Linked DNA regions of Homo sapiens: all the other regions are linked to region 4. Evidence: promoter capture Hi-C in 16 types of primary human blood cells and fetal thymus (Javierre and others, 2016). All regions are on one chromosome and are shown on one strand. The core of a region is centred on a gene start or on the middle of the fragment in contact, and the rest is flanking DNA. Distances in the headings are between cores, read along the strand shown.

Region 1 (5,534 bases), core at 375-2,874, 380 kb after region 4:
TAAGTAGGAGCTAAACATCAGGTACTCCTGTACACAAAGATGGCAACAGTAGACAGCAGGTCCTACTTGAGGGTGGAGGGTGGGAGGAGAACGAGAACTGAAAAACTACCTATCGAGTACTATGCTTATTCCCTGGGTGACAAAATACTCTGTATGCCAAACCCCCATGACACACAATTTACCTATATAACAAACCTGCACATGTAACCCTGAAACTAAAATAAGAGTTAAAAAAATAATCAATTATTGGCCCCACTTCAGACCAATTTAACCAGACTTTCTAGGAATGGAGTCCTGGCAGTACAATGGTGCTGTTTAAAAACTCCTCTAGAGTTTCTACTGGGCATCCCAAGTTGAAATCTTCAAGCTAGAAAGAAAATCATTTCCTGTAGAGGAGACAGCATTGAGTAAAGGTCTAGATCAATGGTTTCCAATTATATTAGAGTTTCCTGGGTAGCTTTTTTAAAAACACTAATGTTCAGACATTAAGGAAATCAGAATCTTTGGAGACAGGGTCCAGGTCCTGGTATTTTTTTAAGGCTTCCTAGGTGATTCTAATGTAAACCAAGATTGAGAACCACTGGCTTATATTGAGAATGGGATGAGCATTTAGGGAATATATTAGTTTCCTGTTGTTACTGTAACAAATTATTACCAGCTTGGTAGCTTAAAACAACACAAATTTATTATCATACAGTTCTGAAGGTCAAAAGTCCAAAGTAAGTTTCACTGGGCTAAAACCAAGGTGTCGGCAGGATTTGCATTCCTTTCTGGAGGACTTAGGGGAGAACCTGTTTCCTTGCCTTTAGCTGCTTCCAGAGGCTGCCCAGATTCCTTGTCTGGTGTCCTCTTCCCCCATCTTTCTTCATCTTCAGTGCCAGCAAGCACATGACTCTGACCTCCGCTTTCTTCATATTCCCAGGGAAGTAGAACATGGGCATCTTTAGGGGAAGTGGGTCATTATTCTGCCTGCTACATGAATAATAGATAAGTTTGGGTAAAACACAGTAGAACAGATGTAGAGAAAGACACAAGTATTGAAGAGATGGTCTGGCATCACATTTTGAAAGGCCTTGGAGCTAAGCTAGAGAGTTTGTGTTTTATTTAAAGTAAATGCTGGTGACTTCAGATAACAGGCTTCAAGAACTACCACAACTGAAACAGCAGAGGCCACAGGCTACCCTGGGAAGAAACAACCTCCCTCTTCCCATGAGGCTGATTGTTTACCTCTGATGTTTGCTGATAAGTAAAGACCACTATGATAAGATCAGAGAAGACCTCTGCTTCAAGGATTGGAGAAGTGTCACCAAGCACCAAGGATGGACAGAAAATAGCGACTTGAGCCAGAAAAGGTATAACCATTCATTGGGTTTAGGATATGTCCACCATCTCTGATTGTCAGGGCCCAGAAGGACAGAGACGGGACACTCAAAGAGGATAATTGGGGAGAGTATAATGAGGGACTATTTATAAACACAGATGGGATTAAGTAAGCCAATGAGGGACAGGGCAGCACCCTTGAATTTGCACAGCAAAGAGCCAGGACCACCCCATGATCTGAGGGTCAAATGGAGAGAGTAGACACAGAAACCCAAAAAGTAGTGATAGAAAAACGTCACCCAACCAGGGATGTGGTCTTCAGCAAGGAATCTGTGACCTGGCAGAGAGGGAGCCAGGGGAACCAACTCCCTGACCTCAGTGTTCTCCCAACCTCCTACTCTAGTGGGGAGTGAAATTTGGCTGAAGCCACTGAAAGCCAGCAGGCAAGGTAATGTGCTGATGCAGTCTTCCTGAAACAGGCAGACAGCAGAATGGAAAAGATAGCAAGTAGATCTGGAGGGACAAAGGAAAAATACATGGCACAGCAGGAAACATTAAAAGTTACGAAGCCTCAAATTTAATATAGAGCTACCATATCATCCAACAGTCCTACATCTGGGTATTTACCCAAAAGAATTGAAATCAAGATATTAGAGAGATATCTGCACTCTCATGTTTATTGCAGCATTATTCACAATAGCAAGAGGTGGAAAGAACCTAAATGTCCATGAATAAATGAACAGATAAAGAAAATATGATGTATGTGCAATGTGTAAACCCAAAAATAAAAATCTAAGCCCCCAACTCACTGAATGGAGCCCTCTCTTGACCAAGGGGATCCCAAAGAAACCTGAAAAGCTAGTTCAGGCCATGATGAGAAGTGGGGATCAGACATGCCTGGTTATACCCTTCTCCCTTTAGAGTTTAGGTACAACTGACCAGCATTCACATTAAAATAGAGATCATAAGACTGAAAAAATAGACTCTTTGTAGCAAATAGACTCTACTCTTTGTAGATCCAACTCCAGACTCTGGTATAGCATCACTTGACAGATGGTAGGCCCTGAAGGAAATCAAAGTATTTTACCCCAAAATATATTTCCTTTGACGTATTTTGAAGTGACCTTGCAAAGCTGTCTCTTAGTGGGGAAATCTCCGTTCTGTAGAGAGTCATCTCTTCCCTTTACTAGGTATTTTCCAGAGAGCCTGACACCTTTTAAAGGCCAATAAGAGATGTATTTTGTTTGTTTTTTTGTTTTTTGGGGTTTTTTTTGTTTTTTTTTTAGATTTTCTTTGATTTTTTTTATTTTTCTTTTTTTATTATTATTAAACTTTAAGTTTTAGGGTACATGTGCACAATGTGCAGGTTAGTTACATATGTATACATGTGCCATGCTGGTGTGCTGCACCCATTAACTCGTCATTTAGCATTAGGTATATCTCCTAATGCTATCCCTCCCCCCTCCCCCCACCCCACAACAGTCCCCAGAGTGTGATGGCCCCCTTCCTGTGTCCATGTGTTCTCATTGTTCAATTCCCTTCTACGAGTGAGAACATGTGGTGTTTGGTTTTTTGTCCTTGCGATAGTTTACTGAGAATGATGATTTCCAATTTCATCCATGTCCCTACAAAGGAGATGAACTCATCATTTTTTATGGCTGCATAGTATTCCATGGTGTATATGTGCCACATTTTCTTCATCCAGTCTATCATTATTGGACATTTGGGTTGGTTCCAAGTCTTTGCTATTGTGAATAGTGCCACAATAAACATACGTGTGCATGTGTCTTTATAGCAGCATGATTTATAGTCCTTTGGGTATATACCCAGTAATGGGATGGCTGGGTCAAATGGCATTTTTAGTTCTAGATCCCTGAGGAATCGCCACACTGACTTCCACAATGGTTGAACTAGTTTACAGTCCCACCAACAGTGTAAAAGTGTTCCTACTTCTCCACATCCTCTCCAGCACCTGTTGTTTCATGACTTTTTAATGATTGCCATTCTAACTGGTGTGAGATGGTATCTCATTGTGGTTTTGATTTGCATTTCTCTGATGGCCAGTGATGATGAGCATTTTTTCATGTGTCTTTTGGCTGCATAAATGTCTTCTTTTGAGAAGTGTCTGTTCATATCCTTTGCCCACTTTTTGATGGGGTTGTTTTTTTCTTGTAAATTTGTTTGAGTTCATTGTAGATTCTGGATATTAGCCCTTTGTCAGATGAGTAGGTTGCGAAAATTTTCTCCCATTTTGTAGATTGCCTGTTCACTCTGATGGTAGTTTCTTTTGCTGTTCAGAAGCTCCATCTATCCTCTCTGAGGCCTGTTACTTAGAAGCTTTATCTACATAACAAGAACCTTGGCTTCCACAACCCCCCTTAATTCAAGCATTTCTTTCTGCTGACTTCAACTCTTTAGGCAAAGCTTAACCTTTTCAACCAATTGCCAATCAGGAAATCTTTGAATCCACCTATGACCTGGCAACCCCCACACAACTGCTCCCCCCACCAATAACATCTGTCTCCCTAAAATGTATAAAACCAAGCTCAACCCAACCACCTTGGGCACATGTTCTCAGGATAACCCTCTTCAAATATTTTACAGAGTCTGTTTTTTTCTATCAAGAAGTAGAATATTCAGGCCAGGTACAGTAGCTCACACCTATAATCCCAACACTTTGGGAGGCCAAGGTGGGTGGATCACCTGAAGTCAAGAGTTCAAGACCAGCCAGCCCAAAATGGTAAAACCCTGTCTCTACTAAAAATACAGAAATTAGCCAGACATGGTGCACACACCTATAGTCCCAGCTACTCGGGAGGCTGAAGCAAGAGAATCTCTTGAACCTGTGAGGTGGAGGTTGCAGTAAGCCAAGATCGCACCAGTGCACTCCAGCCTGGGTGATAGAGCAAGACTCCATCCCCAAAAAAAAGAAAAAGAAATAGAAATAGAATATTCAGTCATTAAAAAAGAAAATCCTGTCATATGCTACAACATAGATGACACTTGAGGACACTATGCTGAGTGAAATAAGCCAGTCACAGAAAAATAAATGCTGCATGATTCCACTTACATGAAGTATCTTTTAGTCAGACTCATAGAAACAGATGGTAGAATGGTAGTTGCCAGGGACTAGGGAGAGGGGAAAATGGGGAGTTGCTTTTCAGTTGGGTATAAAGTTTTAGTTATGCAAGATGAAAAGGTTCTAGAGATATGCTACAAAATATTGTACTTTTAGTAAACAATACTTTACTGTACACTTAATTAAGAGGGTTAATCTCTTTTTTTTTTTTTTGGAGATGGAGTCTCGCTCTGTCACCAGGCTGGAGTGCAGTGGCATAATCTCGGCTCACTGCAACCTCTGCCACCTGAGTTCAAGTGATTCTCCTGCCTCAGCCTCCTGAGTAGCTGGGACTACAGGTGCATGCCACCATGCCCAGCTAATTTTTTTGTATTTTTAGTAGAGACGGGGTTTCACCATGTTGGCCAGGATGGTCTCTATCTCTTGACCTCGTGATCTGCCTGCCTCTACCTCCCAAAGTGCTGGGATTACAGGCGTAATCCCACCTTTGGGATAACGCGGTGGGCATGAGCCACCGCGCACGACCCAATCTCATGTTATTTTTTACCGCAATAAAAATAAATAAATAGAAGTTACAACTTCTCTGACTAGTAACATGAAGATTTAAGGAAGTGGAATATAAAGCACATTTTTGGAGATCAGAAAGGGTGGGCTCTTCTAGGGCTCCTAAAGAAAGCTGATGTGGCAGAGGGTCCTGGGACGCTGATGCAGTCAGCCTCTCTCTATACCCACTGCTTCACCTTGTCCAGCTGTGTCCACTAAGTGCAGACTGGGAAGCCCCTGGCCCACCCTGAAGCAGGTCAAGAACTGTGTCACTCCCAGTCAGGCTTGGGTTCCTGTGAGGTCCTACAAGCCGGGTTCCACATCCACTGTGCCTTGACCAAGCCCTAAGTACCATGGAAGCAGCCCTCCCCTCCACAGCCTCATGATATAGGCCCCACACACAGGACTCAGGACCCACTGAGACTCCCTTCTTCACTATGTGTGGTTACTGAATCCAAGACCCCCAAGTATTCCACCTTCCTTTCCAGGACCCGAGCCACTCTCTGAAATTAGCATGTCTGGCCCAGGCCCCCTCCCACTCCCTTTCCATCTCTATCTTGCCTGCTAATATATAGGAAATGATGCTAGAGAG
Region 2 (5,879 bases), core at 530-3,029, 330 kb after region 4:
TCATACAAAGCCATATCCAGGCCATCACCAATAATTCTATACGACAAATGTTTCTTCTAACAACCCCACAATATCACCCCTTACCACAAAATCTTCCTTCAGCTTCATCTCTCCCACTCGAGGTTCCCACGCTGCCCCTAATCAAAGCAGCCCTGAGAAACATCGCCCATTATCTATCCATACCACCCCCCAAAATTTTCACTGCTCAAACACTTCAACACTATTATGTTTTATTTTTCTTATTAATATAAGAAGACAGGAATGTCAGGCCTCCGAGCCCAGGCTAAGCCATCATATCCCCTGTGACCTGCATGTATACATCCAGATGGCCTGAAGCAACTGAAGAATCACAAAAGAAGTGATATTTAAATGGCCTGTTCCTGCCTTAACTGATGACATTCCACCATAACAGAAGTGAAAATGGCTGGTCCTCACCTTAACTGATGACATTACTTTGTGAAATTCCTTCTCCTGCTTCATCCTGGCTCAAAAACTCCCCCACTGAGAGTCTTGTGACCCCCCACTCCTGCCCACCAGAGAACAACCCCCTTTTTCCTTTACCTACCCAAATCTTACAAAACAGCCCCACCCCTATCTCCCTTCGCTGACTCTCTTTCGGACTCAGCCCGCCTGCACCCAGGTGAAATAAACAGCCTTGCTGCTCACGCAAAGCCTGTTTGGTGGTCTCTTCACATGGACGCGAGTGAAACCCAGCAGGCTAGGAATAAAGAAGTTGCAGTTCAGGGATACCATGGAGTCTGAGACCTGAGATAGAAGAGGCAGCCTTAGAGAAAACTGGGCCAAAGTTCAGCGTCCCGATTCCCCTTGAGGAGTTTGCCAATTCCTAAGCTGTGCATGTTCAGGGCAAGATTCTCAGCACCTGAATTGAAAGCAGCAGCTGTGAAGCTAAACAGTTATGCAAAGACTAGCAGTCTGATGGTGCTGGGGAGTCAGAGGCTGGAGGTCAGGGCCTGAGGAGGTAGAGCAACCCTTGTAAATAAACACTGAAACACTAGGAAGCTTTGAAACACTAGAAGGGCTGTACTCTAGGAGTAAGGACAACCCAGAAAAAGATCAACGCTAGCACTAGCAAAAGTTAAGCGTCCTCTTAGATGGATCAAGATCTGCCAGTACACTTATCTGCCTGAATTCTTTCTAGAGAAACGTAACAGTTTCAGAGAACAGTCTCTAATTTTTTCATATAAAATCACTATCCATTCACACTCACACACCAAGCATGCCAAGAAACTACCAAATAACTAAAAAAAAATGTGGAAAAAAATAGCGACAGAACCACAGGTGATCTAAACATTGGAACTATGAGGGATTTTAAAATAAAATGATTCTCCAGGTCCTGTTAGAAAATATTGGTTGCATCTTCTGAAAAAGAGATGCCCGCATCTAAGAACTCCAGGAGCTCAAGTAGCTGCCTGTTACCTATTACCACCACAGGCTCAGCAAGAAGATACACAGAGATGTTCCTCCTGAGCAGAATTATTTTTTTTTCTTACATTAAGTTCCAGGGCACATGCGCACAACGTGCAGGTTTGTTACATATGTATACCTGTGCCGTGTTTGTTTGCTGCACCCATTAACTCATCATTTACATTAGGTATTTCTCCTAATGCTATCCCTCCCCCATCTCCCCACCCCAAGACAGGCCCCGGTGTGTGATGTTCCCCACCCTGTGTCCAAGTGTTCTCATTGTTCAATTCCCACCTATGAGTGAGAACATGTGGTGTTTGGTTTTCTGTCCTTGCAATAGTTGTGAGCAAAGTTTTTAATACTAGCTGAATGTTGGTGCAAACTCTAGGTAATGTCATGAACTGAGCTACCAACTGTGAGCTGGGAGGACTCATTTGTATCTCAGACCTGAAGTCTCTATTAAACAGGCCTCTGTGGCCCCTTTTCCTATGGCCTTCATCCAAATATTTATCCTCTAGAGCTTACCATTCTAAAAAGAAAGAAATGATTACCCCATACAAAAGTGGACAAAGGAAAAAAAAAACAGCATTTATTCTCAGTGTATTTTTGCTTAGCCTCTTTCAATAAGCCCTACCCCTATAACTACAAGCCGATTGCTGTGCATCCTTGGACAGCTCATATTTGAATTGTTTTTCCTCTGCAAATGGAGTGATGAGAGGGGTTCCTTGGACTTGAACTAGAAGTTAGAGTCTACCATGACCTAGTGATGGAAAAGAGAATAGGTCTCAGAAACATTTAGGAAATAATCTTGTTAAAACTTCATGATCAATTGGATGAAGGAAGGTCCAGGTCCATGATGATTCCCTGGTTTCTAAATAGGGTGATTGCACCTTAAGTCTTGCAACTAACCAAAATAGATAATTGAGGCAAAGTAGGAAGTTCTACTTTTGCCAAATTCAACTTGAGATATACAAAAGAAAAGTTTCCTAATGCTGTTTATATATTCAACTCTGAGGCTTGGAGAAGAAGCCTTGGATAGAAGTTTAGATTTCAGTGGCATCGGTACCTACAGGTGCACGATGAAGCCATCAGATGAGTGGGAGAAAAAGCTTGCATCTACTCCTTATATGTTTATAACCCACCTCATTTCAAAATCAGATTTGAGTCAGCAGGAGAACATGTAGAAAGAGAATTAAAAGTCAGAATATTTGCCTAATAGACTCTAAATTTAGGGTAAGTAATGAAGAGGGACTCTCCCATAAACAAGAGAACTCAAATGTTGGTTTCACTGAAGCAAAGGATCCAAAAAGTTTTCTTCAAGAAGCAGAGATTGATCAAAACTTGAATTCAGTAGAGAGTTCCAGCATGTGAAGAATTAGGAGTTTTGTTTACCAGAACAGTTTCTTTCTAGTGCTCAGATATAAGTGAGATAGCCCTGGGCTACAGAACAAGTAGAGATAATGCTCCTTCAGAAAATAGGCTTGTCGGGGGAGGGTAGATGAGATTTGGACTTGAGGCAGGGCCTGACACATGTAGAATGTTGTGCTGGTTGTTTTGAAGACAGGACGTATTTAGTGTGTTTTTCATCTTGAGGAGACTTAGATGATATAAATTATGAAGGATATTTTATGTAGCAAGGCCCTAGATGGGATGAAACGGTTTGAAGGGGAGTAGCGGGTGATCTTGAAAAACAGGAACACTTTATTCAGTAGCCAAGAATAAAGTAATAATTAGTTTACTGAGTTGGCACTCTTAGCTAGTATGTGTAATAAGACTTCAGGTATTTTGTCTCCTTTAGGAGCAACACCAGGAAATACGTGGAATTACCCACTAACGGACTAAGAAATGAAGATATTGCCTAAGGTCATTACCACTCAGAACCCAATCTGTCTGATTTAAAAGTCCTGAGCCTGGCCGGGCGCGGTGGCTCACACCTGTAATCCCAGCACTTTGGGAGGCCAAGGTGGGTGTATCACCTGAGGTCAGGAGTTAGAGACCAGCCTGGCCAACATGGTGAAACCCCGTCTCTACTAAAAATACAAAACTTAGCTGGGAGTGGTGGTGCACGCCTGTAATCCTAGCTACTTGGGAAGCTGAGGTGGGAGAATTGCTTGAACCCAGGAGGCAGAGGTTGCAGTGAGCCGAGATCGGGCCACTGCACTCCAGCCTGGGTGACAGAGTGAGACTCCATATCAAAAAAATGTCCTGAGCCCTTAGCCAGTAGGTCTCACTGCCTCTGTGGAGAATATAGGTGTTGATGAGTCCAAGTTGGAAGGTGGGGTGGTGGGATGTTGAGGAGGGCATACCTGATACCCTCCAATTTTGATGTCATTGGTACAATGTTGGCTACCATTTGAATAGAGGGCTTGATGAGAGAATCACCTCAGAAAGGAAGAGATGAACAATATGAATGATGAAGATGCTGCTAAGTGAGAAGCACCCGTGGGGTGGGAGGAAGGACACGACATTATCAATGTTGATCAATGTTGAAGGACATGACATTATCAGTGAAGATGGTGGTGAGAGAGAGGAAGCAGTGGGATGGAGACACCACGAGTCACTTGTCGATTAATGGTTCGTTCACGCAACATTTTTTGAGCACCTTATGTGTACTCCATAGTATTCTCAATGTTGGGCCTACTTAGGTATAAGACATTCTGTCCCCTCAAGCTGTTCACAATCTAATCAACACAGTGGTAAATACTAACATGGGGTCATCTTGGGATGGCAGAACTTACAAGGAGCAACCATCCTAATCTCTGGGGATCAGAAAAGGCTTTCTGGAGGAGGTAATGTCTAACCCTAACCTGGGGGCTGAAGTGTGAATAGGGGTTTACTAAATGAAGGAGAAAGACTTTCAGAGAAATGGAAGAACAGCTTATGGAAATTTCAGACAGGAAGAGAAAGAAGGGCCTATTCTTAGGTGCTTAAGGGAAGGTGAAACATTGAAGGGAAGTAATGGCACTGAGGTTGGATGGGTCACCTGAGGTGAAGCTATCAGAGCCTAGTAAATTTTGCTGAGAAATTGTGATTTTATCCTGAGGTGCTGAGGATTTTAAGAAGTGAAATGAAATAACTAGATGTGCATTTTAGAAAGCTTAGTATAGCCACAATATAAAGAATTCGTTACGAGGGCAAGAATGGGGATTGGGGAGACCAGTCAGGAGCCTGTTTGGTAACCCAGGTGGGGTCAGGAAAATGGCAGAGGGCATGGAGAGAAGGAAGTCACACAGCTGATTCCAGAAGCCCTTTCTCTGACTAGAGAGAGGGTGACTTCTCTACTAAATCATTCTGCTGTTTCTTCTGTTCCCTCTAGACTCTAGTGCCTATGGCCAACCTTGGAAAGGCATGGCCAAAGCACCTGTGTGAGCCACTGCTACAGAATCTGGAGGAGCTGACATAGAGAAGAAACTCAGGTTCCTCCTGAAGGACCCATCCATGGAGAGGTCCTCCCAGATACCCTGGGGCGAGGTGATGAAGACCTGGGACAAGGCCCTCAGCCACAGGAAGAAGATGACCATGAAGAGCTTGGGGAAGCAAATGCAGAGAAAGGCCTGTGTGTGTGGTAAGTGTGGGAAGGATTTGTGTTTGCGGCAACCACCCTCTGCTGTTCTCCCTTTGCATCCTGCCTTCTTTCAGTTCTAGTTTTCCCTTTAGATCCTTTTTTTCCTTTCACCTCCTCATCACCCACCCCTTCACTTCCCTCCACTGTTTGCCCACCATCCCTTTTCCTCCTGTTCCTCATTAGCCTGTGTGTGTGTGTGTGTGTGTGTGTGTGTGTGTGTGTGTGTGTGTCCTTGATTACCTCCACCTGTTCTTTCCACTTGCCATTTCAAAGGTGAAATGTCCTGCTCTCACTCAGAGATAATGTAGCTCCTCACTAGGTGGAAAGCCAGCATATTTTCACATGTTCAGTGACCTTGCCTGGAAGGAAGTAAAAGTCAGTTGACCCCAAAAAGCCCATCGCCACCACCACCACCTCAAGACCAGAGTTCAGGGGCCATGTTCTGGGTCAGTGACCTACTGGTATCACCAGAGTGAAGCTGAAAGGGGCCAAGAAGATGTATAAGCAATTCCAGGAAGGTCTGTAATAAGACTTTGAGGAGAGCCAGAAAGAACTTTCCCCTCCTTGGCCAGAAGCAATGCACGCCACAGAGTTCTGAGGGAAAGGGCCCTAGCGCTGCTTTCCTGGGGAGTGAGGCGCACACTCCACACCCACCTGAGTCCCCTGTCCACTGTTTCCTGGATCCGGTTTTAGTCTGTTGTGCAGCTTCCCTAATAAGGGGTAAGTGTTTCTTTGGCTGGCTGAAAGAGGCCTGCTCCTTTCCTGGTGCTATGAATCCAGGTGGGACTGCAGTGGCTCTTCTATGGCCATTGACTGTGTGAGCCCCACGGTAAGGCGGGGAGGAGGCAGGACAGGATGCAGGCATCCAAAGACACCACTGTGAGCTCTC
Region 3 (5,585 bases), core at 214-2,713, 400 kb after region 4:
GAGATAAGCAGGCAGTACTCAGGGACAGGCTCAAATTTCCTCAGCAGATTACGGGCTCAACAGCAGGTTCCCTGTTGGTCAACTGTTGCTTGTTAAATTCTTAGAATGCTCTTTGTTTTCACCCCCAGTAATAAAATTGCATTTACCTATTTATCCTTCTTGGTTTATTTTCTCTGTCCTCCTCCCAACTCCTGAGGAAGTCCCAACTAATATCTGGATGTATGGGGCTTCACTAAGGTAGTCTTATAGAGCAAGTCATACAGACCACAACCTGCCCTGTCTGAACAACACCCAGTCTGAAACAAATAAACAGGCGGGCACTTCCCTGAAGCCCAGTCTCTCCCAAACATAGCCTAAGCTTGACATGAAGTTTATTCAGACCTAATACACAGGTCATCCTTGAGGCTTCCAGTCTAATCCAGGTAGCAGGCTGGGTTCTAGAGTCCAGTCAGTCCCAAACACAAGTGAGGTCCTTTCCTGAGATCCCCAAGCTGTACAGGCACATAGGTCAGGTTTACCCTGCGATGTCCAGTCTAGCCCACACAAACAGGTCAGCTCCTGCCCAAGGGTCCCCAGTCTGACACACACCCAGACCAGGTCTTCTTCGGGGTCCCAGTCTGACCCAAAGACCACAGTAGACCCTACCCTGGGAAACCCAAACTCAGCCAAACACACAGGTCACATTTTGAGGCCACCGTGCTGACCTCAGGCACACAGACAGGGTCCTGCACTGGAGCCCAAGTCTGACCCAAAAACCAGACTAAGCCCTGATCTGGGATCCAGATCAAAGTCGGAACCAAACCCATAGTCAGGCCATTCTTCCTATGACAGCCAATGTGATCTACCTAAAAGCTAACCCCTGCTTAAAAGACTTCCACAGCTCTGGCTGGGCAGTGGCTCACACCTGTAATCCCAGCACTTTGGGAGGCCGAGGCAGGCAGATCACTTGAGGCTAGGAGTTTGAGACCAGCCTGGCCAACATGGCGAAAGCCCGTCTCTACCAAAAATACAAAAATTAACCCGGTGTGGTGGCGTGCGCCTGTAGTCCCAGCTACTTGGAAGGTTGAGGCAGGAGAATCGCTTGAACCCAGGAGGCAGAGGCTGCAGTGAGCCAAGATCGAGCCACTGCACTCCAGCCTGGGCAACAGAGTGAAACTCTGTCTCAAAATTAAAACAAAAACAAAAACAAAAACAAACAAAACAAAAAAAACGTCCACAGCTCCTTATCATCTACAGAAGGGAAAAGTGTTCAGGTAATGTCCCAGAAAGGGGGTGCGGTGCCTGCACACTGCACAGAATTATCTACTAAACAAGCCTGAGTTTTTTCTTCCTGTCAGTTGATCATAGGGAACTCCCCATGAGGCCATAGGTGCAGGCTGGGGAAGAAAAGGCAGTGTAGCAGAACTGGAGACCTCGGGATTTTGGGTCACTTCTTCATGGTCACTTGTGCCTTCAGGGTTTGCTTGAGCCTGATTTTGTATATATCACTTCCATTTGATGATGGACTGCTACTGTGCATGCTCAATTTTATGGCAAGTTGAGTCGGACAACAGCCAACTCAAGTCACATGGTAATTTGGTGGCCCATGGTTAAGTGTTCAGTCTCTACTAAGGCAAACCAAAAGCTATTTCTCAAAAGGAGAGTAGTTACCCACAGGGGATGATGGCAGGGCTTCGGTCCAAAATCCTAAGGGCCTGTCCTGTGATTCACTTACAGGGGTCTGCCAAAGCCTCCAATGAGCATCTCTATCTGCCACTGCCACTTCAAGCACCACTGGATCTGATGGATCAGATGGCCCAAGTAGCAGAGAAACTTCCCTGGCAGCCTGGACCTGTGGCAGTGCCTTGTGTAGTTCTGGGCCCCAGAACTAGCAGCTTTTGGTAAACAGGATGGAGTAGCATGCCCCAGTGTGCTGCTCCAAATGAAACCTAAATTCAATGGGAGTAATTAGATTTCAGAGTGGCACGTGGAGGCACTCAGTTGCCATAACCAAGCTGGAAATGGTTACCATGATTTTTTACCTCCAAGACTCAAAGAGGTACACTAAGTATCATGCCTCTTTCTTGCTTGTAGGAGTCGTCAGATGCAACAATTTATCCTTAACCTTAGAAAGGGTATCTCGACATGCCTCACACTAGATGCCTAGAAATTGTCCTGTGTAGAAGGTGGCCCTGAATTTTAGTGAGATTTCCCACCTTCTGACATGCCAGTATTCTACCAATGAGTCTAGAGAAGTCACTACTTCTTGCTCATAGGTCCAATCGATATAATGTCACCAACGTATTGGACCAGAGTGGTATCTTGTGGAACAGAAAGCTGATCAAAATCCTGTAAACTAAACTATGATATATGGTTGGAGAGTTTATATACTCATGAGGCAGGATGGTGAAGGTGTATTGCTGGCCTTGCCGGCTGAAAACAAACTTGTTTCTGGTGGTCCTTACTAAGGGGTATGGAGAAAAAAGCATTTGCCAGATCAATAGCTGCATACCAGGTATGAGGATATGTGTTAACTTGCTCAAGCAATAGAACTGCCTCTGGTTGGAGTAATCACCCAGTTAAGCTTATGATAATCCATTGTCTTTCTCCAAAATTCGTATTTTCTGCAAAGGCCAAACAGGTGAGTTGAATGGGGATGGGGTGGAAATTATTTCTGCATACTTTAAGACCTTGATGGTGGCACTAATTTCTGGCATCCTTCCAGGAATGCAATATTGATTTTGGTTTATCATTTTCCTAGGTAGAGGCAGTTCTAGTGGCTTCCACTTGAACTTTCCCACTATAATAGCCCTCACTCAAGTCAGAGAACCAATATGGTTGGTTCTCTGTGTCAGTTGCTGAGTGTATCTATTCCAATTACGCATTCCCGAACTGCATAGTGAAATAACCACAGGATGGTTTCAGGGATCCCTGGAGCCACTGTGAGACAGACTGGAGGTAAAACTCCATTGATTACCTGACCTCCATAAGCTCCTACTCCAGCTGGAAGATCACAGTGACGTTTTAGTTTCCTGGAACTAGTGTCAGTTTAGAGTCTGTGTCCAGTAATCCTCAAAAGGTTTGATTATCTCTTTTTCCCAATGTAGTTACTAGTAAAAGGCCATAGATCCTTCTGGGAAAGGCTGGGAGAAAGATTTAACAGTATATATCTTTGATAGTGCAGTGGGATCCTTCCTCAAGGGGACTTGGTCTCCCTTTCATTTGAGGGGTTCTGGGTCTGTAAACTAGTTCAAATCTGGGAATTGATTGAGGGGCCATAATTCTGGTTTTATTATTCAAATTAGACTTGTTCACTTAACCGGAAACTCTTCTGCTTATATAGATCAAGTTAGAATTTAATAGATTCCCCATGTATTTCACCTCGAGGAACTCCATGATCATCTAGCCAAACCGTATCTCTGTGAGTCAGACTTTTTTTTTTTTTTGAGACAGAGTCTCGCTCTGTCACCTAGGCTAGAGTGCAGTGGCACAATCTCAGCTCACTGCAGCCTCTGCCGCCTGGGTTCAAGCAATTCTCCTGCCTCAGCCTCCCAAGTAGCTGGGATTACAGATGCACGCCACAACACCAGGTTAATTTTTGTATTTTTGGTAGAGACAGGCTTTCACCATGTTGGCCAGGCTGATTTCAAACTCCTGACCTCAAGTGATCTGCCTGCCTCGGCCTCCCAAAGTGCTGGGATTACAGGTGTGAGCCACTGCATCTGGCCAAGTCAGACGATTCTGATTGCTGCTTTAACTCTGCTGTCCATTATAGTAACTATTCCCACCCTGCCTTTGGCAATTAAGTGTCTCTACCTGGCACTATGGGATCCAATTACTCCCACTGAATTTAGGTTTCCCAATTCAGTGGCAGTGTAATTTCAGACCTACAGAAAAGAGCAATCACAGAGGTCTTTAAGGATGCTGAGGCTTCCCTCACAAATTTACTTCTCACAGTCATGGTGAAGTGTCCTCCAGACTTCCCTCAGGGTGGGAGAGCTGGTCTTTTAAATGATAAATCCACTCTAACATTTCGATCTCCCTAAGCCTTTGAACTACTTCCTCTATAGTATACCAAGGCAGGACTGGCATTTCAACTTCACTTAGGGCAAATTTTGGTCCATGTTTCAACCAACCAACCAACCAGCTAGAGCAGGCACTTTTCGATCCCCCATGCTGCAATATTAAATCCAAAACCTCTGCTTTGTGGGCCCCTATCAATAAACTGAGCCTGATCCAACTTTATGTTCCTTCCACCATTATCACATATCCTTAATATCCATTTCCACACATATTCTCAAATGGGAAGAATCATGTAGTTCTTTTTGAGTGTAGCACACCTCCTCATAGATCTCACTTTGTACCTCACCTTTGGGGCCTGCTGGGACTTGAATCTAGTTATAGGTTTAGAACCAAAGAGGGGTGGTCAGGGTGGGTCCTGAGGACAATCAGCAGTGTCCTGCAAGGCAATTATCTCAGAGGAAGACATCAGTTTCCTCAGGGAAAGCAGTTAATGTCAATTAGGTATAATCAGTTTGGGTAAATCAGTTAACTCTGCTTCTACTGGCAATGAAGACTCATCAGAATTTAGAGATTCAATATTACCAGCTTCAACAGGATCTTCCCATATGTCACCATTCCAATTTTCAGGATCCCATTCATTCCTAGTCAATATCCTCACTTTAATAGCAAAGGCACACTGCAAGGCTCAGAATTCAATTTGCATTGTAACTCAGGCACTTGCAAAATGAGATTCTGGGTTTGGTTTCAGAAATCTCAACTCTGCAGCTACAGAACGTAAAGTTTCTTTCAAAGCAGAAACAGAAATGTTCAGGTCTAGTACTTAAGTTGAGAATTCAAATCACTAAAGTCATCCTTTTCTTTCTCCAATTTGTCCAGTGCAATTAAAAGCAACCAGCCAATCTTATTAGTGTGACAAAAAGTTTGAAGGTATCATATATCTCTGTCAAAACAATAACTGAACATGCACTAAAGGAACAAAGACTTTGGCAATCATACGTGACAAAGAATAGTCTGAAAAATTAGTTTGGGCTGGACGTGGTGGTTCACACTTGTAATGCCAGCACTTTGGGGGGCTGAGGTGGGTGGATCAGTTGAGGCCAGGAGTTCAACACCAGCCTGGCCAACATGGCAAAACCACATTTCTACTAACACCACAAAATATAGCCAGGCATGGTGGCACACACCTGTAATCTCAGCTACTCAGGGGGCTAAGGCATGAGAATTGCCTGAATCCAGAGGCAGAGCATGCGGTGAGCCAAGATCACACCACTGCATTCTGGCCTGGGGTGACACAGCGAGACACTGTCTTAAAAAAAAAAAAAGTTTGGAAATGTCTCAAATGGAGTACTACAGTCTTCAACATAGCAATGAAACAAAAAACAGTAAGCTCTGGAGTAGGAGAATCTGATTACTGGAGTTACCTCATTATAACAGTCAAATGCCCATTTTTCAACAACAAAAATTACAAGGCATACAAAAAAAAAAAAAAAAGGAAAGAAAGAAAACATGGCCCATTCAAAGTATCAAGAAAAAATGATAGACACCATCCCTGAGAAAGCCAAGACATTGGATTTACTCAACAA
Region 4 (5,987 bases), core at 1,991-4,490:
AAATGGGCCTATTCTATGTCCCTATTATGCTGGATCACTGGGAACAGTTTCTGGGAAATGTGGCCTCGGTAGGAGCATGGGGATAGTAGATGGCAGCAGTTAATGCTGTCAGTCAACTGCATTCACTGTAGAAGATCTGGAAGGTACACTTAAAGGTTGCCACAATAATTTCATGGCTTCTTGTATGTTTCATAAGTTGTTTCACCTTTTTATGCTTAGGTGGCCAACTTAATGTCCCTTGGCTACATTTAGATTTCACAACTTCAATATTACAATAAATGAAAGCTAGAATTATATGAACATGCTATTCTATAATCTGACACAGACTGCACAACTTTAGGAAAACGAAGACAAGATTCATTCACATGATAGGCTGAATTCCAAGAAATTCCATAAGTTGGGTCCCAACTCATATCTAATTTCTTCTAGTATACTTTCAGCAAGGTTTCTGTACCTCTCCTGAGGTTAACCTTATTAGATGACATTTTAAAATCACACTAGAGATAATTCTGGGTCATTGTGATTTGCCCTTTCACCCCTGCTCCATAGAGAGCTGGTGAGCACAACTTTGCACTGATTCCAAAAATCTTCCTCTGGTTCCCAACCATGGTGGGATAGGTAAAGCAGAAGACTTATCTTATGATTGCTTTTCCATTCATAGGAAGAATACTCAATTCCTCTAAACTCGGATGAAAGTTTAGGGAAAGCTACTCATTACGGTGTGATAGGATGGAAGTTAGAGATGCATGTAATTGGATCCCTAAATGATCACACATTCCAGATGTCCCATTAGCGGAGTGGTTTCCATTCCATTCTCTGGACTAGCCAAAGAGAAACTAGAAAAGTTTCTCTGGTTTCATGCAGTGCTCTTTCCTTTGCACTTGACTACTCCTTTGGTCAGTTTGGTTTCTACCTAAAGCCTAGTGTATTCAACATTTTCTTGACTTTATGGAGTTGTAGAATTAGTGAGCAGACCTAGATTTACGTTTTGTCCTTCCTCTGGAAACAGCACTGAAAGAAACTGCTTTTTGATCTGTATACTTCTGACTTTAGAAATAATGGGTGTAGCTAATGTCTAAGTGCATGACAACTCAGACCTCCAGGAAAGGCCTTTCAGCACCCTTCCTCAGTTAAGGAAAATGTGGAACAGAGAGGCTTGGAAGCCTTTGAGCTTTAAAAACAAACTTGGCTGAATTCCTGGTTTCACTATTGCTCTCTGAGTGACCTTGGGCAATTCTATCACTTCTGGGAACCTCAATTTCTTCATTTGCAAAATAGAGTAATTCTTACCTTAGTGTGGTTGGGAGGACTATGTCAGTAATCCTGTCAATAGTAACTAAATGCTTTATCCATGTTAGCTCAATGACTAGAACATAGTTAATATTTAATCTGGAGGACAAAGTCAGTGTCTCTATAAACTATATAACTTGCAACTTGTTGCTGATTCATTTTAAGGATGTAGCACACTATCGGCAGGAATCCTACAGATGGGATTAGGGTTTGGGGAGTGTTTCTGTGGGAAAGGGAAGACTTATTTCCACAGAGTCCTCATATGCATCAAGCCTGCAGAGAATACAACAAAGGCAATATTGAGACATGGTAACCTTGTCTCATTTTCCTTCATTGACCTGACAATTTTTTTTCAGGCCACATTCTCTTTCATAAGTATCCCCAAATCTTCTGGGCACATACAAGTGAGTCTTCTAGAACACATTTTTACAGGCAGTTTGAACAGCATCTCAATTAAGAGAGGCTTAACTCAGGAAGGTGTCACCTTGCAGCTAAGGAAACTTCAATTAAATGACTTAGTTTTTTAAATTTACCTTTTAAAGGATATACAGAAAACAAAGAATAGAAAGTATTAATACATAACTTTACAATGTATTACAAATTCCAACCAAATGTGGAGCTAGGCAGCTTAAGTAACTGTATGTAGTTCATAAAGCAAGGGTGTTCTGTCCTATTTCCTCATAAAATATAAACAATAATACCTCATGTCAGGATATTTTCAAGAATTACATGAACAATGCTAAATATTAGCAGCTTGTCGTTATCACGGTTGGTTTACCTTCTTTGTAGCTCAAATATCCTTTAGTTGTAAGTTTTGTATTTTCCACCTTTTAGGACTTAGAGTTGTATACTTTCTTAGAATTCCTTTGGAACTACAAAAGTTGGAGAGCACAGTGCCTAATACTTCAAACTGCTTGTAAAGTTCCTAATGGGAAGCAGCCTACCATATTTAAACACCTTCTCCATGAGCTTATTTGAGAGAGAAGAAAATAGTAATCATCTAATCTTCATTTCTATCCTTGGTATTTGGAGAAGGCTCTCTCGGATCTGCTTGGTGCGAACAGCATAGACAATGGGATTGAGGATTGGAGGAATGAGGAGATAGAAGTTGGCCAGCAGAGTGTGGACTGGAGGAGGCACACACTGACCAAATCGGTGAATCAGGGAAGAAACAGCAATGGGAACATAAAAGATCAGGATGGCACAGAGGTGAGAAGCGCATGTCCCCAGGGTTTTAAGCCTAGCCTCAGGAGTGGCTAACCCCATCACGGCCCTGAAAATCATCACATAGGATGCAGCAATAGCCACTGAGTCCAGGATCAACACCAGAAAGCCGATGCTCAGCCCATAGACATTATTGACCCTGCTGTCGCCACATGTCAAGGCAACTACAGCCATGTGCTCACAGTAGGAGTGGGAGATAACATGGGTTTTATAAAGGGGCAGCCGCAGGCGGATCATCAGAGGCAGAGGTCCAATGTAGAGAACACCCCGGAGGAGAGAAACAAGCCCCAAACGACCCACCACTGTATAAGTGAGCACCATGCTATGACGTAGTGGGTTGCAGATGGCCACGTAGCGATCAAAAGCCATGGCAAGGAAGATGCCTGACTCAACAGTGGCAAAGCAGTGGATAAGGAACATTTGGCCCAAGCAGGCGTCCAGGCCAATGTCACAAGCACCGAACCAGAAGATTCCCAGAAGTTTGGGTATAGTGGAAGTAGACAGAACCAGGTCAATGGCAGCCAACATGCACAAGAAAAAGTACATGGGCTGGTGCAGGCTGCGTTCTATCTTTACCACAGCCAGGATGGTCACATTCCCCACCACAGCCACCAGGTACATGGAGCCAAAGGGGATGGAGAGCCAGACGTGTAGGGACTCCAGCCCTGGGATGCCAGTGAGCCAGAAGGAGCTGGGTACTGAGCAGACATTATGAAAAGTGAGCATGGCTATTTATATGTGAACCTTCTCACTTGTACCACTAAACGCAGCAGGATGTTTTTCCTGGAAATAAAAGACAATATTTTACTCTAAGTTCCTATAATAATAGGGTCACTGACTAGATGTTAGATAAGTCATCTTTAGAAGAAATTCTAGAACGTCAGTGTCACATTATACTAAAATGTTCGCAAAATCTTAGAAAGTACAAGCCAAAACACTCATTTGAATGAAATACATCTTTTTGCAGTATGACCTTCGAGGAGTGATATTCTTGCATCAGTGAATGAACTGACCTAAAGCAAATAACTATCTGGTCATTTACCACTGCAGGTAGGCTATGAGGTGGTGCTTGAGATCATGTTGGAAGGTTTTAGAGTGTACAGCTACTTGAAAGAAAAGGAGATGCACTGAAGTGTCAGAGGGTCAGAGACACCTGGGACTATCTAGGCTCTATGGTAAACCAAAGCTTAAGCCTGGGACCAGAATTGACTACTGGATGAGCTGAAATGTCTAATTTGCAGGCCAAAATCACAAGGCAGAGACTTGGGGTGGTAAAGATGACACCTTCCAGAGGGTATAGAAACAAAGTGATTTCTGAAAGATGAAAGCTGACCAAAGCTCAGTTTATGCGTATTTGATACCCAAAGGCAAAGCCTGGCAAGGGCCTCCTCCCTTCATGAAGACTGAATATGAAGAAAAGGCTCCAGAAACAGAGGGTTATCAGCAGGGAGGAAGAAGACATTCAGTGCAGAGTAGCATGAAGCCTAAGACAAATGTTTGGCCATGAAACACCCTTACTTGAAGTCCAGAGCAACTCACTAAAAAGATGTCAATTTAAAGCAAATACATGAAAACAATGTGTTGTCTGATTTTTTTTTTTTAAATCTTTGTCTAAAAGACTATACCAGAATGTGTTCCTTATATATCAGAGGAATACGAAAGGTGAGGAGCGTGTAAGAAGTTTAATGCAGTACATCTTAAGCCTAGTTAGGTTGATTACAGAATAGTCAGCAATCTGGGCTTAGGACTTTTCTAGATCTGTCTTCAGATCTTGGCAGTGAGAGCTTAGGTGAACTGCTTTATCCCATTAGTGAAATACAACTAACTACACTTTGCAACAAACTTAAAGCCATGGCCTAGAGAAGTTGTCATGACTAAATGAAAATGCAGGGCCTGACAGTAACACTAAGCATTAGTTCTTTATTCTGTTGAGACTAACATGCAAAGCCAAAAATGTTCAAACTTCAAAAGACTCTGGAATGTCTATCTCCAGGAAGCTGTGGTGCTTGGGAGGGTGACTGCTGTAAGTCTGACATTATCCCATAAAACCTCTCCATAAGCTGGGCTCACCTTCAGATTCTCAAAGATTATGACAAGTAGACATAATGTTGGCAATAACTGCAAAATAGGGAAAATAAAAAGGCTGAGTCATTGGGGCTGGGAAGGAAAGGAGTACACAGGAAGTGGCCTGTGAAGTCATCAGGTAGAATGGAGTGATGGATTTAGTTGGAAGGAGGTGGCTTGGCTTCCTTAACCTATATTCTGGTTGTTCTTCACTTGCACTCTCCATTTGCATAGATCCCTGTTCTATGTCTCAGATGCTATATTTTACTCATGGGCTGTATCACCCAGATTCCCTTGTCCTCTATTTTCCAGGTGGGCTCAGTCAATGTGAGGCACTAACAGGAGATATGAGGGTAAAACCAGAGATTAGAGACCTACTCTCTAGTTCCCTTCCTACCAGCTATGTTTGGCAGTGTCTTGGTCTTCTACCAAAGGCCCCAGCTCCTGAAGTGACCCTTTGTGTTTTCTGGTAACCATGCCCTGCTTTGCCCGGTCAGTTCTAGGCTAAGTTGTGCTGCTTACTGTTAGTCCCAGTGCCTCCCCATCCCTTGTCAAGTTCCTTAACTCTTGTCAAGCCTCTGCAGATAGTCCCTTCAACTGCCCCTTTGACTATGCCACTTGTTATTTCATGAATATATCAGACCAGATCCCAACAGTATATAATCTTTACCCAGTATTATCTCTTGACAAGAAGATTGCTTCCTCAGTAGGACACAGAATCTGAAAGTTGACAAGTCACAGAACTAATCCTAAAGGCAAAAGAGCTATAAACTCATGACAATCGGGGGCTAGATAATCTTTCCTCTGATATTTAGATTTACAATAAAGGGAGACTTTTCTATTTTACTTGTATGTCTAATCAAATGGCTTTTATAGCTTGAATATGTCCTACTAAGCAAAGCTGTAATGTGGAAAAGTTTTGTTCTACTCCAGAAATGTAGAGTTCTTGAATGGAAAAATTAACAGGACTCAACCAAGTGGATTTTTCTGTTGCCAAGATTCCTAAGTACAGCTATTACCCCTCCTATATTAGTGAGAAAGCTGTTTCAGGGTCCATCTTTCCTTCTAATGCAATTTGAATCCCTTCACTTTTTCCCTGGCAAATGGCTCCCTTCTAGATTTGTGCAGAGATCATGTTATAGGAGGAACTTACAGGCACAAATCACAGATGAGACCAAGTGTGAACTGGTCTCATCTGTGATCTGAATTGCTTGGTGAATTGTGGACACAAGAGGAAGTGACTTTTCATGAAATCCAATAGGTGTCTCTGGTATCACAGACCTTGTTCCAGCCATGTCAGATGTCCCCTCTGGACTGACCTGGAACTCTGGAGAAGGTAGAATTTATCTTCTCTCGCTTTCCTTCCTCATACCTGACAACATACAGGGCTGTTTCTTGATGGATACCCC
Region 5 (5,448 bases), core at 466-2,965, 340 kb after region 4:
ACCCTTCAGCAATGAATCATATCAGCTTGTACTCATAATGTAGAATCTAGGATTGCAAGTAGTGAGGAAGCCTGTTATGAATTCCAAAGGTGGCCACCTGTAGGTCCTGAAAATTGGTCTTACTTCCATCAACACCAATAGCACTCCTCAAGCCTTAGGAGTGTGAGGGTTTTGAGAGCTCTGATAATTATACTTTTAGAATTTTAGTTCTATCTTTTCCCTGAATTTTGTGGATGATAAAGGTCAGTAGAGATTCTGAGTAAAAAGTAAAGCATTGCAGGGTTCAGTAACAACAGTACCAGTGATATGTGTGTTCCTCTTAACTGCAAAATAAGTTGGGATTTTCCAAGTCAGAAATACAACAAAATTAAGCAAATTTGTTCCTACCACTATAGCTACCACTCTCCAGTAAGGTAAAACATCAACTAACCCTAAGAATAAACAACAATAATCAGAATGCACTCAGCACATTTGGAGACGTTCAAAGGGGCAGTGAGACTTCGGTTCCTGTCCATGACCTATCCTTAAAATCTTGCCAGGATTGTGTCATTGTCAGGTTGGACATATTTTGGAAATGTCTATGAAACCTCCTAAAATTACCCCCATCAATGTTGGTTCAATATCATGACAAATAAAAAAGAACAAGGTCATGTCCTTTGCAGGAACACGGATGGAGCTGGAGGCCATTATCCTTAGCAAACTAACACAGGAACAGAAAACCAAATACCACATGTTCTCACTTGTAAATGGGAGCTAAATTATAAGAACACATGGACACAGAGAGGGGAACAACAGACACTGAGGCCCGCCAGAAAGTGCAGGGTGGGAGGAGGGTGAGGATAAGACAAAATAACTAATGGATACCAGGCTTAATACCTGGGTGACAAAATAATCTGTACAACAACCCCTGTGGCATGAGTTGACCTATGTAGCAAACCTATACATATACCCCTGAACTTAAAATAAAAGTCAAAAAATAAAAAATAAAATAAAAATCATGGCAGATTTATCTCTTGTATTATGGGTAATATCATGAAGCACTTTTGCTAAATTCTACATTTATCATGGCCATTTCTTTAGGTAATGGAAAACTTCTCAGGGTTCCTTAATTTGCTATCCATTTTATAAGGATTCCTGTAACAGTCAGAAAATGTCCTTTTTTTTTAAAGCATTTCAAAATCATGGGCCAACCCAAAATCATACCCACCATCAGGACAAGTATTTGTTTTTTATCTTTTGTTGGCTGGCATGTCTGGACAAAGGCAATTTAGCCATCTGAACAGATTTCATTTCTTTGAGAAGCTTAAAGGTAAATTCAAGTCTGTGATAGTATAACATAATTGGCAACTTGTAGTTTTTCTTTTTAGGTATGAACCATCTACAAACAATTAAATGAGGGGTGTCCAAAAAATAAAATACTTGGGAATATACCTAACCAAGGAGGTGAAAAATCTCTAAAAGGAAAACTACAAAACACTGCTGAAAGAAATCATTGACAACACAAACAAATGGAAACACATCCCAAGATCATGGGTGGGTGGAATCAATATAGTGAAAATGACCATACTGCCAAAAGGGATCTACAGATTCAATGCAATTCCCATCAAAGTACCATCATCATTCTTCACAGAACTAGAAAAAATAATCCTAAAATTAATATGGAACAAAAAAAGACACCACATAGCCAAAGCAAGACTAAGCAAAAAGAATAAATCTGCAGGCATATTACCCAACTTCAAATTCTACTATAAAGCTATAGTTACCAAAACAGCATGGCACTGGTATAAAAATTGGCATGTAGACCAATGGAACAGAATAGAGAACGCAGAAATAAACTCAAATACTTAAAGCCAACTGATCCTTGACAAAGTAAACAAAAACATAAAGTGGGAAAAGGACACCATCTAGAAGAAAGAAACTGGATCCTCATCTCTCACCTTATACAAAAATCAACTCAAGATGGATCAGAGACTTAAATCTAAGACTTGGAACTATAAAAATTATAAAAGATAACATCAGTAAAACTCTTCTAGACATTGGCTTAGGCAAAGAGTTCATGAACAAGAACCCAAAAGCAAGTGCAATAAAAACAAAAATAGATGGGACCTAATTAAACTAAAAAGCTTCTGCACAGCAAAAGAAATAATCAGCAGAGTAAACAGACAACCCACAGGACGGGAGAAAGTATTTGCAAACTATGCATCATACAAAGGACTAATATCCAGAATCGACAAGGAATTCAAACAAATCAGCAAGAAAAAAAAAATAATCCCATCAAAAAGTGGGCAAAGGACATGAATAGACAATTCTCAAAAGAAGATGTACAAATGGCCAACAAACATATGAAAACTGCTCAACATCACTAATCATCAGGGAACTGCAAATTAAAACCACAATGAGATACCCCCTTACTCCTGCAAGAATGGCCATAATAAAAAAATCAAAAAAACCGTAGATGTTAGTGTGGATACAGTGAACAGGGAACACTTCTACACTGCTGGTGGGAATGTAAACTAGTACAACCAGTATGGAAAACAGTATGGAGATTCCTCAAAGAACTAACAGTACAACTACCATTTGATCCAGCAATCCCACTATTGAGTATCTACCCAGAGGAAAAGAGTTCATTATATGAAAAAGACACTTGCACATATGTTTATAGCAAAACAATTTGCAATTGCAAAAATATGGGGCCAGCCTAAATGCCCATCAACCAAAAAGTGGATTTTAAAAATGTAGTGTGTGTATACATATATATATCACATTTATATACACATATATATGTGATATATATGTGAGATATATATATATATATATAGTGAAATACTACTCAACCATTAAAAGGAACAAAATAATGGCATTTGCAGCAACTTGTATGGAATTGGAGACCATTATTCTAAGTGAAGAAATTCAGGAATGGAAAACCAAATATTGTAGTTCTCATTTATAAGTGAGAGCTAAGCTACAAGGACGCAAAAGTGTAAGAATGATAAAAGGGACGGTGGAGACAAGGGGGAAGTTGGGAGGGGGACGAGGGATAAAAGACTACACATTGGGTACAATGTACACTGCTCAGGTGATGGCTGCATCTCAGTAATTATCACTGAAGAACTTATCCATGTAACCAAAAATCACCTGTTCCCCAAAAACTATTGAAATTTTTAAAAGGTTAAAAAATAAAAATTTAAAAAAAGATCTGAAAGAGCATGATAGTCCCTTAACAGAGGTAAAGCCACCTCCTTTAAAAGAAGGAGGTGGCTGTGTGTAGAGTATTGCCACACTGGACAGTGATATGCGAAGGGGGAGGCAACGATATGTCACAGAGGGTAGGCAACTAGCAAAAAGTGGTGAGGATATTCTGTGAATATAAGCGTCCGCAGAGCATGGGGAACCACTAAGTTTAGCGGAGGCGTCAGAACTAAATCTACTGAAGTTGAAGTTTTCTCATATTTTTCTATCGCTATTATAACTCTTAGGGAGGTGGATAACCAAGAAGCGCTGACTGTTTTCTCTCAGTAAAACAGTGTTCACTATGGGGAACCATTCAGTTTGGTGGAAACTCTAGGACTAAGTTGGCTGAGGCTTCCACAAGCTTTGCTGCTGTTGTCATAGCTCTTGGACAGATATGTTTTGGCTACTGGCTCTAATGAAAGACTGAGATGGCCCATAGGCCTCTGCTCAGTGCTGCCCTGAGACGTACTGGAGACAGAGACAAAAGGAAAAATGTGTGCCCCTGTGTACACGTATTTCTGTATTTGCTAGTGGCTATTTTTTCCAGAACATTAAAGAAATATTTAAAATACTGAAAAATTGAAAAGTAGATTATTAAAACTCATATTAAGGTCACATATATAATTTCACTTCCCTGGATTTAATGGAAGTGAACTCATCCAAAACAATAAAAGACTGATAAATTGTATTATATAAAAATAAAATTATTTTATTATACAAAAATAAAATTATTTTATTATACAAAAATAAAATTATTTTATTCAAAAAAAAAAAGAAAAAAGAAAAGTCCTGGCCGGGTGCTGTGGCTCACGCCTGTAATCCCAGCACATTGGGAGGCCAAGGTAGGCAGATCACCTGAAGTCAGGAGTTTAAGACCAGCCTGGCCAACGTGGTGAAACCCCGTCTCTACTAAAAATTCAAAAATTAGCCGGGCGTGGTGGCGGGCACCTGTAATCCCAGCTACTCAGAAGACTGAGGCAGGAGAATCGCTTGAACCTGGGAGGGGGAGGTTGCAGTGAGCCGAGCCTGTACCACTACCCTCTAGCCTGGGCAACAGAGCAAGACTCTGTCGCAGAAAAAAAAAAAAAAATCCCAAAATAAATTAAACACTGAGAGAAAAGATCGGTAATATATAACACAGATACATATGTAATATCGCTAATATATAAATAACTTTTTCTACTCGATAGAAGTTTCAAAAACCTGATATAAAAATGGTCAAATAGTCAAAGACATAAACAGACCATTGACTGAAAAAAGAATTAAAATGTCCCGTAAACATGTGAAAAAACATTCAGCCTCAACTATAATAAGAGAAATGCAAATTAAAATAACACTGAGATATTATCTCTCACCTAGCAGATTGGCAAAAATGTAAACATACACTAACACGTTCTGTTGGCAAGGCTTGAAGAAAGTAGATGCTCAAGCATTTCTGATGGGAATGGAAATTAGTACAACCTTAATGGGGGAGAATTTGATGATATCAAACAAAATGGCACATGCTTTTCCCCCTTTTTATAATTTATCCTGGTAATACATATTCAAATATATACAAAAATACATATGTTTAAGGATTTTCATTGTAGCATTGTTTATAATTGAAAAATATTAGAAACAACCAAAATGACTTTACATAGGAAAATGGTTGAATGAACTATGGTACATCATCGAATGGAATAGTCTGCAGCTATAAAAATGAATGAGGATGACATCTATAAACTGATATAGAATGGCTCCCAAGATATGCTGTTAAATTTAAAAAGCAAAGTGTGAGAAAGTGTTTATGGTATGCCACGTTTTGTGCAAGAAAGAAAGGGGAATAAGAAAATATATATTTGTCTGCACAACTATACAAAAAGAAACTTAGGAAAGGAAACCCAGAAACTAATGAGATTGGTTCCATACAGGAGTGGGTGGAAATGGAGTGACTAAAGTTGCAGATAGCAAAATAAGTCACTTTTGTCAGACCCGAGCAAACTGGAGCCAGAACACACAAAGGAGCACAGCTCATGCTTGCACATCTGAGATAAGGACTATTTCAAGGACTTTCTAAAATAACTCCACGAGAAATTCCTTCATCTTTTATACATCTCATGCTTTTCATGATCTACATTTTACATGCATTTTACATTTTACATGCATGCACATATTTCTATGACCAGGTTTATCACTATACATTCTTTAGGACTGTAGCAATTCTGATAAGATGCTAGG

Evidence for each region. Contacts are between HindIII fragments. The CHiCAGO score rates a contact against its expected background, and 5 or more counts as called.
Region 1: a fragment that was not itself captured here is called in contact with the fragment with the promoter of OR52M1 in region 4 in 1 of 17 cell types (M0 macrophages); the score reaches 6.0 in M0 macrophages.
Region 2: a fragment that was not itself captured here is called in contact with the fragment with the promoter of OR52M1 in region 4 in 3 of 17 cell types (M0 macrophages, M2 macrophages and M1 macrophages); the score reaches 6.9 in M0 macrophages.
Region 3: a contact is called between a fragment that was not itself captured here and the fragment with the promoter of OR52M1 in region 4, in 7 of 17 cell types (M1 macrophages, M2 macrophages, monocytes and 4 more). The highest score is 11.1, in M1 macrophages.
Region 5: a contact is called between a fragment that was not itself captured here and the fragment with the promoter of OR52M1 in region 4, in 14 of 17 cell types (M0 macrophages, M2 macrophages, monocytes and 11 more). The highest score is 15.3, in M0 macrophages.

The regions. Positions count from the first base shown.
Region 1 is chr11:4,157,173-4,162,706 of GRCh38, reverse strand. No RefSeq gene overlaps it. Among named protein-coding and RNA genes, the nearest start is that of LINC02749, 27 kb to the left of the region's middle. The HindIII fragment of the contact is 4,071 bases long and covers 1-3,659 here.
Region 2 is chr11:4,214,127-4,220,005 of GRCh38, reverse strand. No RefSeq gene overlaps it. Among named protein-coding and RNA genes, the nearest start is that of SSU72L5, 16 kb to the left of the region's middle. The HindIII fragment of the contact is 1,514 bases long and covers 1,023-2,536 here.
Region 3 is chr11:4,140,653-4,146,237 of GRCh38, reverse strand. No RefSeq gene overlaps it. Among named protein-coding and RNA genes, the nearest start is that of LINC02749, 44 kb to the left of the region's middle. The HindIII fragment of the contact is 2,205 bases long and covers 361-2,565 here.
Region 4 is chr11:4,542,444-4,548,430 of GRCh38, reverse strand. OR52M1 (olfactory receptor family 52 subfamily M member 1) reads right to left here and starts at 3,240. Exons shown (of 1, transcript NM_001004137.1): 1 at 2,287-3,240. The coding sequence starts at 3,240. The coding sequence ends at 2,287. The HindIII fragment of the contact is 8,356 bases long and covers 1-3,702 here.
Region 5 is chr11:4,196,779-4,202,226 of GRCh38, reverse strand. All of the region lies in intron 1 of LINC02749 (long intergenic non-protein coding RNA 2749), which reads right to left. Among named protein-coding and RNA genes, the nearest start is that of LINC02749, 12 kb to the right of the region's middle. The HindIII fragment of the contact is 821 bases long and covers 1,305-2,125 here.